Linked DNA regions of Homo sapiens: region 1 is linked to region 2. The links are contacts of gene promoters, found by promoter capture Hi-C in blood cells and fetal thymus (Javierre and others, 2016). All regions are on one chromosome and are shown on one strand. The core of a region is centred on a gene start or on the middle of the fragment in contact, and the rest is flanking DNA. Distances in the headings are between cores, read along the strand shown. Region 1 overlaps MSH6 (mutS homolog 6). Region 2 holds the start of LRPPRC (leucine rich pentatricopeptide repeat containing).

Region 1 (6,866 bases), core at 1,884-4,383, 3.8 Mb after region 2:
GCTGCAGGGGAGACGCGGAGAGTTCGGGCCTTTTGGAGGGAGGAGACGCGTCCCGCCAGGTGGGGGTGCTGGGCTAAGGAAGGGGCGACGCGCGCAGCTCCGGGTGGGGAGGGGGCCTGGGAGGTGGGAGCACTGGGGGTGGGGCGAGAAGGGGAAGGCGCCCGGCCCACTTGGTGGGCGGGGCGGGGGGCGGGGTGGCGGGAAGGAGGAATGCCTGCGGGAGGCCGAACGGGGAGAGTCCGGTGGTGTGGGGTGCGAAAGGAGGTTCCTCGGCCGGCGCGGAGATAGTGAGTTGGGGCTCCAGTAGTCGATCGAGGTAGACACTTAGAGGTAGTTAAGAGCCGCGGTCGCCGAGACGCCTTGGGGACGGTGGGCCTTCGGCCTAGGTGAGGGGCCGCCGAGGGGGTGGGCCACGAGCTGCGAGCGCGGGGGGGTGTGTCACCATGGGGACCGCGGGGCCTAATTGGGCGGGGCGGGGCCGTGGGGAGCCGAAGTGCTGGGATCCGGCTGGGTCCTTCGGTAGGTAGGCTGCACGTGCACCGAGACGAAGATAGAATATTTTGACGTATGTGGAAATTCGTGTCGAGTGGAAAATATTTTATTTTATGAAATAGTGTAATTTTTATGGGGCACCACTGGGCTTTTAGAGGCCTTAATCGGGCGCTGGACAAAGATGTGTGGACGTGAGTGACTCCGGGGAAGCCTGTCGGGAGTTGTCCTCACTTTATGGGCAGTTAAGTGCTTTTTTTTTTTTTTCCTTTTTGAGAGAGAGTTTCGCTCAAGTCCAGGCTGGAGTGCAATGGCGCGATCTCAGCTCACCGCAATCTCCGCGTCCCGGCTTCAAGCGATTCCCCAGCTTCAGCCTCCCGAGTAGTCGGGATTACAGGAATGCGCCCCCACACCCCGCCAATTTTGTATTTTTAGTAGAGACGGGGTTTCTCCATGTTGGTCAGGCTAGTCTCGGAATTCCCGACCTCAGGTGATCCACCCGCCTCGGCCTCAAAGTGCTGGGATTACAGGCGCTAGCCACCGCGCCCGGTCTGTTTAGGGCTTTTTATCCGGGCAGCTGGCGACATTTTGAAAAGCTTGCTTTTGCTGTTTGCCAGATACATATATATGTATTTTGAGACAGAGTCTTGCTCTTTTGTCCAGGCTAGAGTGCAGTGGCGCGTTCTTGGCTCACCACAACCTCTGTCTCTGGATCAAGAGATTATCCTGCCTCAGCCTCCCAAGTAGCTGGGACTACAGGTGCGCCCCACCACGCCTGGCTAATTTTTGTATTTTTAGTAGAGACGGGTTTCACTATGTTGGCCAGGCTGGTATCGAACTCCTGACCTCTTGATCGGCCCGCATTGGCCTACCAAAGTGCTGGGATTACAGGCATGAACCACCGAGCCCGGCCGTTTGTCAGATACTAAACACAAAGTTTAATGGTCGCTATTTGAACAAACGAAGAAATAAAGGCTCAGAAAAAATAACTCATTCAAGATAAGAGCCAGTTCGTGTTTTTTGTTTGGTTTTGTTTTGAAATGGAGTCTCGCTCTGTCGCCCAGGCTGGAGTGCTGTGGCGCTTTCTCGGCTCACTGCAACCTCTGCCCGCCGGGTTCAAGTGATTCTCCTGCCTCAGCTTCCCGAGTAGCTGGGATTACGGGTGTGCCCACCGCGGTCCGGCTGATTTTTCACCATGGAGTTTCACCATGTTGGCCAGGCTGGTCTTGAAACTGCTGACCTCAAGTGGTCCACCCACTTCAGCCTCCCAAAGTGCTGGGATTACAGGTGTGAGCCACCGTGCCCGGCCGCTAGTTAGTGGTTTTGAGTAATGGATTTCAAATCCATTTAAATCCAGTTTAAAGTGTCCTAAAGGAATTCTGAGATTTTTCTAAGTGTAATTATAGTGTTACCCTTGTTTAAGCGACCCTTTCCCGCAGTTTAAATATATATAGTTGTGCATTAGTAGAATATGCTTGTGGGGAACAGAGCCAGCATCCGCAATAACAAACTCCTGGTTAGAAAAGCATGACGTATTGTTTACTTGAGCATGAATTGATTGTTGAATCCAAACCAAACGGGTGTATTTATTGTAAGGATGTACTTTACATTCATATTGAATAGCGTATGTTATTTGTTTCTTGAGGTTGAGTTTAAGAGACTTGTAAAAATAAAACGTATACATTTCACCTCCCGTTATGGAGAGGATTCCAGGGTATTCAAGAAAGATGGGCATTTGATACTAGGTTTCTAAAGAAACTGCAGTGTCTAGATCACTCTGCCGAGCACAGCATTAGGCATTATGGATCCTGGATACAACCATGAACAGGACAAAGCAAAGAGGCAATTGTAGACTCCAAGTGGAAAGGGGACGGAGAGGATGCGGGTCAGGCTAGGCTCTCAGCTCTGTAAACCGAAACCAGAAGGACAAATAAGCTTAGACAGATTATAGTGAGAGTGGGAAGCTGGTTCAGGAAGAGGAAGGTCTGCAAATTGTGGGTAGGATGAAAGGAGGAGGAGGGAGCATTGGAGAAGTTAAGCAGAGATCCAATCATGAACAGTCTGATGAGCTACAGAGACATTCGGACTTACTCCATGAATCATTTAAGCCTTAAAACATGTTGAGCGTATTTTTTTTTTTTTTGAGACGGAATTTCACTCTTGTTGCCCAAGCTGGAGTGCAGTGGTGTGGTCTCAGCTCACTGCAACCTCCGCCTCCTGGGTTCCAGCGATTCTCCTGCCTCATCCTCTCAAGTACCTGGTATTACAGGTGCCTGCCACCACGCCCAGCTAATTTTTGTGTTTATAGTAGAGACGGGTTTCACCATGTTGGTCAGGCCAGTCGTGAACTCCTGACCTCAGGTGATCCACCCACCTCAGCCTCCCAAAGTGTTGGGATTACAGGCGTGAACCACCGCACCTGGCCGTGAGCCACCGTGTCTGTCCGAGCATCTTTTAATGTTTGTCATTTAGATTTCTTCTTGTGCTGAAGTGTTTGTCTTTTGCTGTTTCTTTTTTTTTTCCTAGTTCTTTGTCATTTGTGTGTGATATAAATGTCTTCTTTCACAATGAGTTCTTTCATTTAGTTTATGGCTTTGTTGTTGTTGTTGAATAATAGAGGTCTCACTTTGTTGCCCAGGCTGGTGTTGAACTCTTGCTCTCAAGCGATCCTCCCACTTCAGCCTCCCAACCTGTTGGGATTACAAGTGTGAGCCACCACACCCAGCCTTATGGCATCTTTCGATGAACAAATTATTGATTATAATGTGGAATTTGTCCTTTTATTTTCTCTGTGGTTAGTGTTTCTATAGGTTTTATTTAAGAAATCCACAGGGAGGCTGGGTGCAGTGGCTCATGCCTGTAAACCCAACACTTTGGGAGGCCAAGGCAGGCCAACATGGCTAGACCCTGTCTCTCCAAAAAATAAGAAAATTAGCCAGGCATGGTGGCGTGTGCCTGTAGTCCCAGCTTCTTGGGAGACTGAGATGGGAGGATCGCTTGAGTCCAGGAGGTTGAGGCTGCAGTAAGCCAAGAGATCATGCCATGCACTCCAGCCTGGGTGGCAGAGTCAGACCCTGTCTGCCAAAAAATAAAATAAAAGTTGGTGAAAATGTTGATTATATATTTTAGGAACAACTAGTAATTGACATCAAAATTATGGGCTAAAGAGAAAGCAAAAATAATGTGATTTTAAACCAGAATTCAAAAGATCTGTTTAGCGTATGTTTAGACAAAGCCATTACTTATTATATCAAAGTTTTAACATTTATTTTGTGAGCTGTCAGCTTTTCCTCTTAACATTTTTCCCCACCGTCTTAAAAAACCCCAAGAATACCGGACATTTAAGACTCACTTAAAGCTTTAAAAGCACTTGCAAAATCCTAAAATCATAATTTAAGGTGTTTTTGGAGGGCAGGAGCAATGGTGGCAGGCAGTGTTTTGCTTTGTTGCCCAGGCTGAAGTACAGTGGCAGATCTCGGTTCACTGCACCCTCGACCTATTCGGCTCAAGTGATCCTCCCACCTCAGCTTTCTGAGTAGCTGGGACCCCAAGTGCACACCACCCCATGCCTGGCTAATTTTTAAATTTTTTTGTAGAAACAAGGTCTCACTGTGTAGCCCAGATGGTCTCGAATTCCTGGGCTCTTAAGAGATCCTCCCAAAGTGCTGGGATCATAGGTGTGAGCCACCACACCTGGCCTATTTTGGCATTCTTGAAAACCGCAGGATTACCACGGATAAAATTTTAAAATTACCTTTAAAGAATTCAGGTTTACACACAAAAAAAATTTGGTTTGTTAGCAGTGAGTGAAGAAAAATTTTGAGAAATGTTTAAAATTTTTAGTTTTGTTACACAATACATTTTACTACCTGTTTAATTATCTTTTTTGACTCAGAAACCAGTTTCCTGGGTCCAGGATGTTTAGTGGTACTCTTTTTCTTCAAGCTTTTTAGCATTGGAGGAACTGCATATTAGTAAAATTTTTAGTCTTAGCATTTTATAGCTTACTGCTATTTCTTTTCTTTCATTCTTTCTTTCTTTTTTTTTTTTTTTTTTTTTTTTTTGAGATGGAGTCTCGCCCTGTCACCCAGGCTGGAGTGCAGTGGCACGATCTCGGCTTACTGCAACCTCTGCCTTCCAGGTTCAAATGATTCTCCTGCTTCAGCCTCCCGAGTAGCTGGGATTACAGATGCCCGCCACCATGCCCAGCTAATTTTTATTTTTTTAGTAGAGATGGGGTTTCACCATGTTGGCCAGGCCAGTCTCGAACTCCTGACCTCGTGATCAACCCGCCTTGGCCTTTCAAAGTGCTGGGATTACAGGCGTGAGCCACCGTGCCCAGCCTTTTTCTTTTTCTTTTTCTTTTTTTTTTTTTTTTTGAGACGGAGTCTTGCTCTGTTACCCAGGCTGGAGTGTAGTGGCATGATCTGGGCTCACTGCAACCTCCACCTCCCGGGTTCAAGGGAGTCTCCTGCTTCAGCCTCCCGAGTAGCTGGGATTACAGGCGCCTGCCACCATGCCCAGCTAATTTTTGTATTTTTTTAGTAGAGATGGGGTTTCGCCATGTTGGCCAGGCTGGTCTTGAACTCCTGACCTCAGGTGATCTGCCTGCCTCGTCCTCCCAAAATGCTGGGATTATAGGAGTGAGCCACTGCGCCCGGCCCAGCATACTGCTATTTCTTTCTTTCTTTCTTCTTCCTTTTTTTTTTTTTTGTTTTTTTTTTTTTTTTTTTTTTTTTGTGAGACGGAGTCTGTCGTCCAGGCTGGAATGCAGTGGCGTTTTCTTGGCTCACTGCAACCTCTGCTGCCCGGGTTCAAGTGATTCTCCTGCTTCAGGCTCCCAAGTAGCTGGGATTATAGGCCTCTGCCACTGCACTTGGCTAATTTTTGTATTTTTGGTAGAGACGGGGTTTCACCATCTTGGCCAGGCTGGTCTTGAACTCCTGACCTCGTGATCCACCTGCCTTGGCCTCCCAAAGTGCTGGGATTACAGACCTGAGCCACCGCACCCGGCCCATACTGCTATTTCTTAACAGCAGAGAAATTATGTGTCAGATTCTGTAAGTGTAATGGTATATAAAGGATAAAATGATGTTGAAAAACAAAATTTTTTGTTTAAATGCTTATGTTTCTAATATTTTATTTCAGAAAGGAATTTATTTCAAAACTGATAATGGTTGGATCCAGCTTTTCACACAAACTTTTTTTTCCTAGTGAGGATGCACATTTATCCTGTAAACAAATGGAAGACATTATTTTTTTAATTGCTTGCTTAGAAATGAAATAATTCTTTTCTAATGATCTTTTAAAGCATGAGACCTCATACATCATTTAAAACAATTTATACTGTATTTTACACATGACAAAGTTCTAAGGTAACAGCCCTTTTCTAAGACTAAAGTTACAGTCCTCCCTTTGTATCTGAGGGGGATTGGTTGCAGGACCCCCCTGTGAATACCCAAATCCTTGGATGTCCAAGTCCCTTATGAGATGTAGTATTTGCATATAACCTATACACATCTTCCCCTGTACTTTATCTCTAGATTACGTACAATACCTAATAGAATGTAAATGCTTTGAAATTAGTTGTTCAGCTGTATTTTAAATTTTGTATTTTTTTTCCTTTTTTTTTGAGACAGAGTCTTGCTCTGTTGCCCAGGCTGGAGTACAGTACAGTGATCACAGCTCACTGCACCTTTAACCTCCCAGGCTCAAGCTGTCCTGCCTCGGCCTCCCCAAGTGTTGGGATTACAGGTGTGAGCCATCATACCTGGTCACTGTTTTTTATTGGTTTTAAATTTTTGATTTAAAATTTTTAATCTAGGTTGGTTGAATCTGGACTGGAACCCAAGGATATGTTTGTTGAGCATACTGTATTTACTTTGGAATACAACTAGAATGCTTAACTTGTATGTTAAAAATACTTTATTTGGCCAGGCGCGGTGGCTCACGCCTGTAATCCCAGCACTTTGAGAGGCCAAGGCGGGTGAATCATTTGAGGTCAGGAGTTTAAGACGAGCCTGGCCAACATGGCAAAACCCTGACTCTACAAAAAAAAGGTAAAAATAAGCCAGGTGTGATGGCGTGTGCCTGTAGTCTTGGCTATTCAGGAGGCTGAGACACAAGAATCGCTTGAACCGGGGAGGCACGTTACGCCCTCAGTTGTTGACTTGAGTTTTTCCGTAGTTTGTAGGGGGAGGGTAATAGAGTATTAGGTAGCTTTTGGAATACATAGGAGTGTAACTGGAAAAAGATTCCAAGCAAGTCTAATGAATTAGATAATTTACCTAATTAGTAAATTATGTAATCAGTATGCTTTATAATAATATTGTGAGTTAGATCCTGTTTCTGATATGTACATACCATATTGTATAGGT
Region 2 (6,724 bases), core at 2,357-4,856:
TGTAGAGCACTTCAAAGTAGTAGTCTGGTACGGCTAGAACGCAGGATGCCATGGGAGGGAACTCAGAAGAGTTGACGCTCCAGAGGCAACTCCAGCTCATAAAGCACCTGTGCTAAAGAGTCTGGATCTCCTTCTGGACCCAATGGGAGCCACCACAATGCTTAAGTGTAAGCAGGAAAATGACATGATCAAATTATCAGGGAGACTAGGGAATGATGAAGGGGCTGGAGGAAAAGGGATGCATTCCAAATGAAGCAGATCTAACAGGGCTTAATCATTTGTGCAATCAATAAATGGGGGGTGAAGGGAGTGAGAGATGAATGGGAAAACAAATATGTAGATATCCAGGATCTTTCTGGAAGGCAGGTAGAAACAGCAACATTCACGAAAATAGGGAACACAAGAGGAACAGATGAAAGAAGAAGGAGGGGTCCAATTTGAGCTGTGTTGGCTCTGAAGTACCTATAGTTCAAGCAGGTGGATGTGTAGTAGATGGTCCATATCTGGGAGAAACATCATCAGATAGGTAAGTAATGCCCTGAAAAATGGAAAAGGTCACAAAAGAGAATGAAAATGTTGAGAAAACACAGAAGGACCACGAGTAAAACTACCAAGAACATCAGCATTTAATAGGTGAACAGAAGCAAGAGGAATCAAGCAAATGAGACAAATCCTAAAGAGAAGAGAACCTAGAAAAATGGTGTCATCAATACCAAGAAAAGTGTCTCATGAAGGGGAAAATGGAAGACAGAGTAATATGCCAGGTCAAGGCCTAAAAAGTGGATTTGGTAATTAAAAGAGGTCCTTTCAAAAAGTTAAATAAACATACATCTTACACATACATAAGTCATTAGAAGGACAGCTATCAATGAATGGCTCTCTGGTTGACATAATTAAGGGTGATTTTTAGTTTATTGTTCCCACCACCCAGGTTTTGCAACTGTCCCTCGAGGCACCTTAAGGAATAATTTTTGCAACTGTTCTTCAAGGCACTTTTGAAATAATTTTTCAAAAATACAATAAAAAAATCAATAAGATAATAATGGCCTTTGACAGCGGTGTGACTGCAGTGGATAGGAAAGTGAATGAAAAGTGATGAAATTAAAGGGACAGAGAAGTATGGACAGGGAAGAGACTGAGAAACTTCTAGAGTAAACAGAGTTCCAGGAAAGGTTCTGTGTTTCACGTGGGCAAGATCTGGGCATGCTTACAGGATGTCGGGTAGGAGACTATATACAGTGCTCAGAGTCCAGGAAAAAGAGGGAACAATCACTTCTTTATTGCCTGCTGTCACCTGAACACACAGTGGTGAACAAGACAAAGTCCTGCTCTCATATAGCTTACCTTCTACTAAAGAAAAAAAAAAAAACCAGAGAAATAAGTAATGATATCAGACAAGTGAGGTGTGCCACGAATAAATCTACAGTGGGACCGGCATGTTTTGGATTGAGTGTTGAGGTAAGGCTTCCCTGAAGAGACATTTGAGATCTGAATGATAAGAAAGCAACTTTACAAAGATAAGGGGGAAAGGCCTTTACAGATAATGAAACTGAGGAACAGACAGGTTAGTAAGATGGCTGAGATTACGCAGTAAGTAAACAGAACCCAGGTCTGATGAACACCGAGACCACCCTTTCTACTAAACTATGTTCTCTCTTTATTCAGTTCTCCTCAAATGCAACAGTGAAGATAAAAGAAAATGTGGACCTTCCCCTGGCCTCACAGAAATGCTGAGGATTAGAAAAATAAGAGTAATGGGCACAACTTTCTCAAAAGAAACTCTGAAAGCCAAGAGATGTATATAGTTCTGTGCTCAGAGGCATGATTTCGGAAAGTTAACTGTTCAAGCCCAATAAGAAAATATAGGCAGACTCCAAATTACAAGTACGCTCCATTCCAAAGATTATAACTAAGTTGTTAAGAAATCATAAATTATTTCCTCCACGTAATTTTATGGCGAGATTAGGTGTTCAGGCTGGTCCATGAAGGTCCGCATAACCGTAGATATTATGACTCCTGTAGTAACCAACAAAGCACTTACTAGGCATCAGGCCCTATACTAAGTGCTTAATACAGATAATTCTGCAATATTCCTAACACTACTACTACTCCCACCTTATAGCTAAGGAAGCTGAGGCCTGGAGATGTTAAGTAACTTCTCTAATGGCATAATGCAGATAATTTGAGGATAAAATGCAGATAAATCTGGAGTAGGCTGCAGTCTGGGCCCAGCCTACTGCAGATCCCTGGCTCTCAGTCCTTACGCGAGCTCTCAAAGTACCTTAATTTACAAGCATCAGTCTTTCAAAATCATTTTTTCTCCAATGCTAAAAGCTCAGCACCTATCTCCCCTTCTCTGGTGGTCAGAATACTATTAATAACCAAATGAACACTTTCACCAACTTTTCTTTTCCCCTCCACTACAAAAGTCTATACCAAACCTATCTCTGATAAACCTCAAACCATGAGAGCATTTATTCGCCTATCTGACACCCACTTAGAGTTTAACTTGCCTTTGCATCCCCAGATTCCAACAGAGTGCCTTGCATGTGCTCATTCATTCAAAGACACTTACAGGACGGGAGCGGTGGCTCACACCTGTAATCCCAGCACTTTGGGAGGCCGAGGCAGGAGGATCGCTTGAAGTCAGGAGTTCGAGACTAGCGTGGCCAACATGGTGAAACCCAGTCTCTACTAAAAGTACAAAAGTTAGCCTGGCATGGTGGCGCACACCTGTAATCCCAGCTACTCGGGAGGCTGAGGCAGGAGAATCGCTTGAACCCGGGAAGCGGAAGTTGCAGTGAGCTGAGATCGCGCCACTGCACTCCAGCCCAACTCGCGCAACACCTTCTTAAATGCTGAAGGAAAACTCCATTCAAGAGAACGCAGGCAAAAGCCCAAAGTGATCATAATCCAGCGTCCAGCTTTAAGTCATCCGTGGCTCACCCAAACTCCCAACCCACTCCTCGCCGCCCCATCCCTCGCAAAAAGCTAAATTTCCAATATCTAAATGCTAGGTGGTTACTGATCACCAACGGTGACCGCACGTGGGACACCACCCAAGCTGGCCAAGTGTAAGGAAAAGACCACCACCCGACTTCCCAAAGCAGTCTTCAAAGCCCCCCTCATCTTCGTTGACCATGGGTACCCCGAGGGCAGTAAGGTCCAGGCTGAAGTGGCGGGGGCAGGATTCAAGCCGGAGGCAGGCCATGCCCACAGCCGTGACCTTCTGAAGGCGCTTAACCCTGTCACCCGAAAACCCCTGGTAGGGAGCGTGGTGCGGAGCCCGGGGAGGCTAGGTCCTGGGGCGGGGAGAAGGGTGGCGAGCACAGGCAGGACCCGGTCCCTGCCGGCACCCACGACCCCGGGGGACCCTGGCGCCGCAGCTTGCCTGGAGAAAGGGCCTGGGCACTCACCCGGCCACGGGCCCGGCGCGAGCGGCGGGCAGATAGGAGGCGGCATGCAGCCGGCCCGGGCCGCCAGGGAGGAGGCGCAGGGAGAGCGGGAGGCGCGGGGCCGCCCCGGCACGCAGCAACCAACGCGCGGATCTCAGCAGGGCTGCCATTGCTCGAACGTCCCCGCAGCGGGAAGCACGCTCCGCCAGAAGGACAGGAGGAGCATGTGACCGCAGGGTAGCCTGGCGCGGCAGAGACCAACTGCCGGGCGTGCCAAATGTGGGGGGAGCGACGGATTGTTTTAGGTTGGAAGATGGAAAACCGCACTTCTCCGAGGACAGAAGACCCAATGTAATATTTACATAAACGATGTTGCTTGATTCATTATCGAAGCTTTTCTTTTCCGTCTTCCGTCTCCGATCTGGGCATCGTGTTCATTCGCTGCACCCCTGCACTCCTCTGTTGGTAGAGCCGCAAGAGGTCAACTCCTCCCAGGTTGGCGCAGAGGCTTGTGGGAGGCCAACTAGTAAAAATACCGAGAACTCTCGAGGAGAGCCGACTATGAAGATCCCAGGACGTGGGAAGGTTTCCCCCGCCCCCGAGTGCAGATGTTGCTGCTAACGTTCAGCCCTGACGCCATGTCCAATAGGAACGGCCCTTCACTCTCAGAAACGCGGGCCGGAGAAACCGTGGAGGTCTTTTGCACCTTGCCGTTTGCCTCCCAGGTTCAACATGATAGGATGTGGATTATCAGGGCCTGGGAACAGTGTAAAGGAACGCGCAGGTCCCCACCCTAAGCGCGTACGCGGGGCCTCGCTTTAGAAAATAAATGAATTCTACCAAAAATCCTATAGTTTTAAAGCTGGAATTGAACTGACTCTCTTCCCCAACCCTCCACCCCTACCGCGCCTCTCCCTTCAGTAAATGCACATATACATGTGAGAAGTAAAAGAACAATGTAATTAAGAGTCTCCAGCCAAATATGGGGAGAAAACTGGCAAGTTAAACCCATCGCTGGCGAAGTGGCTCACGCCTGTAATCCCATCACTTTGGAAGGCCGAGGCGGGTGGATCACCTGAGGTCAGGAGTTGGAGACCAGCCTGGCCAACATGGTGAAACCCCATCTGTACTAAAAATACAAAAAATTAGCCGGGCGTGGTGGCGGGCGCCTGTAATCTCAGCTACTCGGGAGGCTGAGGCAGGAGAATTGCTTGAACCCGAGAGGTGGAGGTTGCAGTGAGCCAAGATGGCGCCATTGCACTCCAGCCTGGGTGACACAGCGAGACTCTGTCTAAAACAAAACAAAAAAACCACGTCGCTGCCTTCACAGGGCTTACAGACTGGATCGGTTCCCTGTGCACACGTGGGAAGCTGAGAACAGCCTTCCACTCCCTCTACACCTGCCTGTCCCCTACCTATCACGAGGCAAACGCGGCGGGTATTTCCTCTGGAAGCCCTCCCACGGTCATTTCCGAAGTGACTGTTTATCCCACTGGACTCCTTATCAGTTAATCCCACGAACTCCTTATCAGTAGGGACTGTGATCTCTTATTGTAGGCCATACACCTACCCAGTGCCAGACACACAGTAGGTCTCATTAAATATGTGTTAAATTAATGTCTATTTTGAGATGACCTAGCTCACCTCTCCTTTGAGAGATGAGGGAACGAAGACACCCGCTCCAAGCCCCCAAAAGAAACAAGGTGAATTGATTGACTCTGGGTTATATTACTGAGCACTGGGAATACAAGTTATTCACCTATTCAACACGTATTTATTGAATACATATCCAGTGCCATACACTATTTGAAATCCTAGGAATACAGCAGAGAACAAAACAAACCAACCCTAGATTCTAATTAAGCTCTTTAAAGTTTAATTTGGGAAGACAAAAAGAACTGTGATGCAAAATACGCCAGGGTAAAGGGATTGAGGGTGTCATGGGGGGAGTTGCTTTTTTTTTTTTTTTCTCAAGACAGGGTCTTGCTCTGTCACCCAGGCTGGAGAGCAATGGCACGATCTTGGCTCACTGCAGCCTCGACGTCTGGGCTCAAGCGATCCTCCCACCTCAGCCTCCTGAGTAGCCGGGATTACAGGCCCAAGCCCTGGCTAATTTTTGTATTTTTAGTAGATACGGGTTTTTGCCGTGTTGCCCAGGCTGGTCTCAAACTCATGGCCTCAAGCAATCTGCCTGCCTCGTCTCCCAAAGTGCTGGGATTACAGACATGAGCCACGACGCCCGGAGAGTTGATATTTTAAATAGGAAAAACGTTGAACAGAAACCTGAAGGAAGGAAAGGAGGAAGCCAGGAGAATTTTCTGGAAGGAGAAAAAAAAAAAGAGTGGTTAAGGCTTAGAGAACAGCAAACACCAAAACCCAGAGGCAATAATAGGTGTAGCCTATTCAGAGAACTTTAAGGAGGAGGACTGTGTGGATGAGAGAAAAGAGCAGGGGGTAGAGAGCAGGGGGTAGGAGTAGAGGAAGGAGCAGGGGGTGGAGAGGGGCCTGGAGGTCAGAGAGGTAGTTGGAGGCCATATCAAACAGGGTGTTGTAGGTGGCCGTGAAGACTGACTTTTATTTAGACTGAAGACTTTTACTTAGAATGAGATGAGAAACCATTGGATAGTTTGGTGTGTTGCTTTTAAAGAGATGGAGTCTTGCTGTGTTGCCCAGGCTAGAGTGCAGTGTCTATTCACAGGTGCAATTATGACACACTACAGCCTTGAACTCCTGGGCTCAAGCAATCCTCCTACCCTGGCCTCCCAAGGAAGTGGGACTACAGGTGCATGCCACCACACCCTTTTGCTTTTTTTTTTTTTTTTTAAGTGCAGTGGCACAATCTAGGCTCACAGCAACCTCTGCCTCCCCGGGTCCACGCGATTCTCATGCCTTAGCCTCCCAAGTAGCTAAGATTACACGCATGAACCACCACACCCAGTTAATTTTGTATTTTTAGTAGAGATGGGGTTTCACCATTTTGGCTAAGCTGGTCTCTAACTCCTGGCCTCAAGTGATTTACCCACCTCAGCCTCCCTAAGTGCCGGGATTATAGGCGTGAGCCACGGCACCCAGCCACCCATTTGCATTTTGAAAGGGTCACTCTATCTGCTGTTTGGAAAGGAGATTTTAGGGGAATGGGGATAAATAAAAATAGACCAAAGAGAAGGCTAATCCAGAATAGAGATGCTAGTGGCTTGGATTAGAGGGCAGCAGGTGAAATGATGAGAAAGGGTCAGGTTCTTACTCTATTTAAATAGTAGAACCAAGGGGATTTACTGATGGATTGGCTGTGGATTGTAAGTCAAGAACGGCTCCAAAGGTTTTGGCCT

Evidence for each region. The method cuts DNA at HindIII sites, captures the fragments that hold promoters and counts their contacts. A CHiCAGO score of 5 or more calls a contact.
Region 1: a contact is called between a fragment that was not itself captured here and the fragment with the promoter of LRPPRC in region 2, in 1 of 17 cell types (fetal thymus). The highest score is 5.2, in fetal thymus.

The regions. Positions count from the first base shown.
Region 1 is chr2:47,783,720-47,790,585 of GRCh38, forward strand. The region is part of intron 1 of MSH6 (mutS homolog 6); the gene reads left to right. Among named protein-coding and RNA genes, the nearest start is that of MSH6, 4.0 kb to the left of the region's middle. RefSeq lists a silencer at 119-208. The HindIII fragment of the contact is 1,423 bases long and covers 2,423-3,845 here.
Region 2 is chr2:43,992,383-43,999,106 of GRCh38, forward strand. It overlaps LRPPRC (leucine rich pentatricopeptide repeat containing), which reads right to left and starts at 3,607. Exons shown (of 38, transcript NM_133259.4): 1 at 3,417-3,607. The coding sequence starts at 3,565. RefSeq lists enhancers at 3,158-3,809, 3,605-3,884 and a silencer at 3,185-3,504. The HindIII fragment of the contact is 4,663 bases long and covers 1-3,786 here.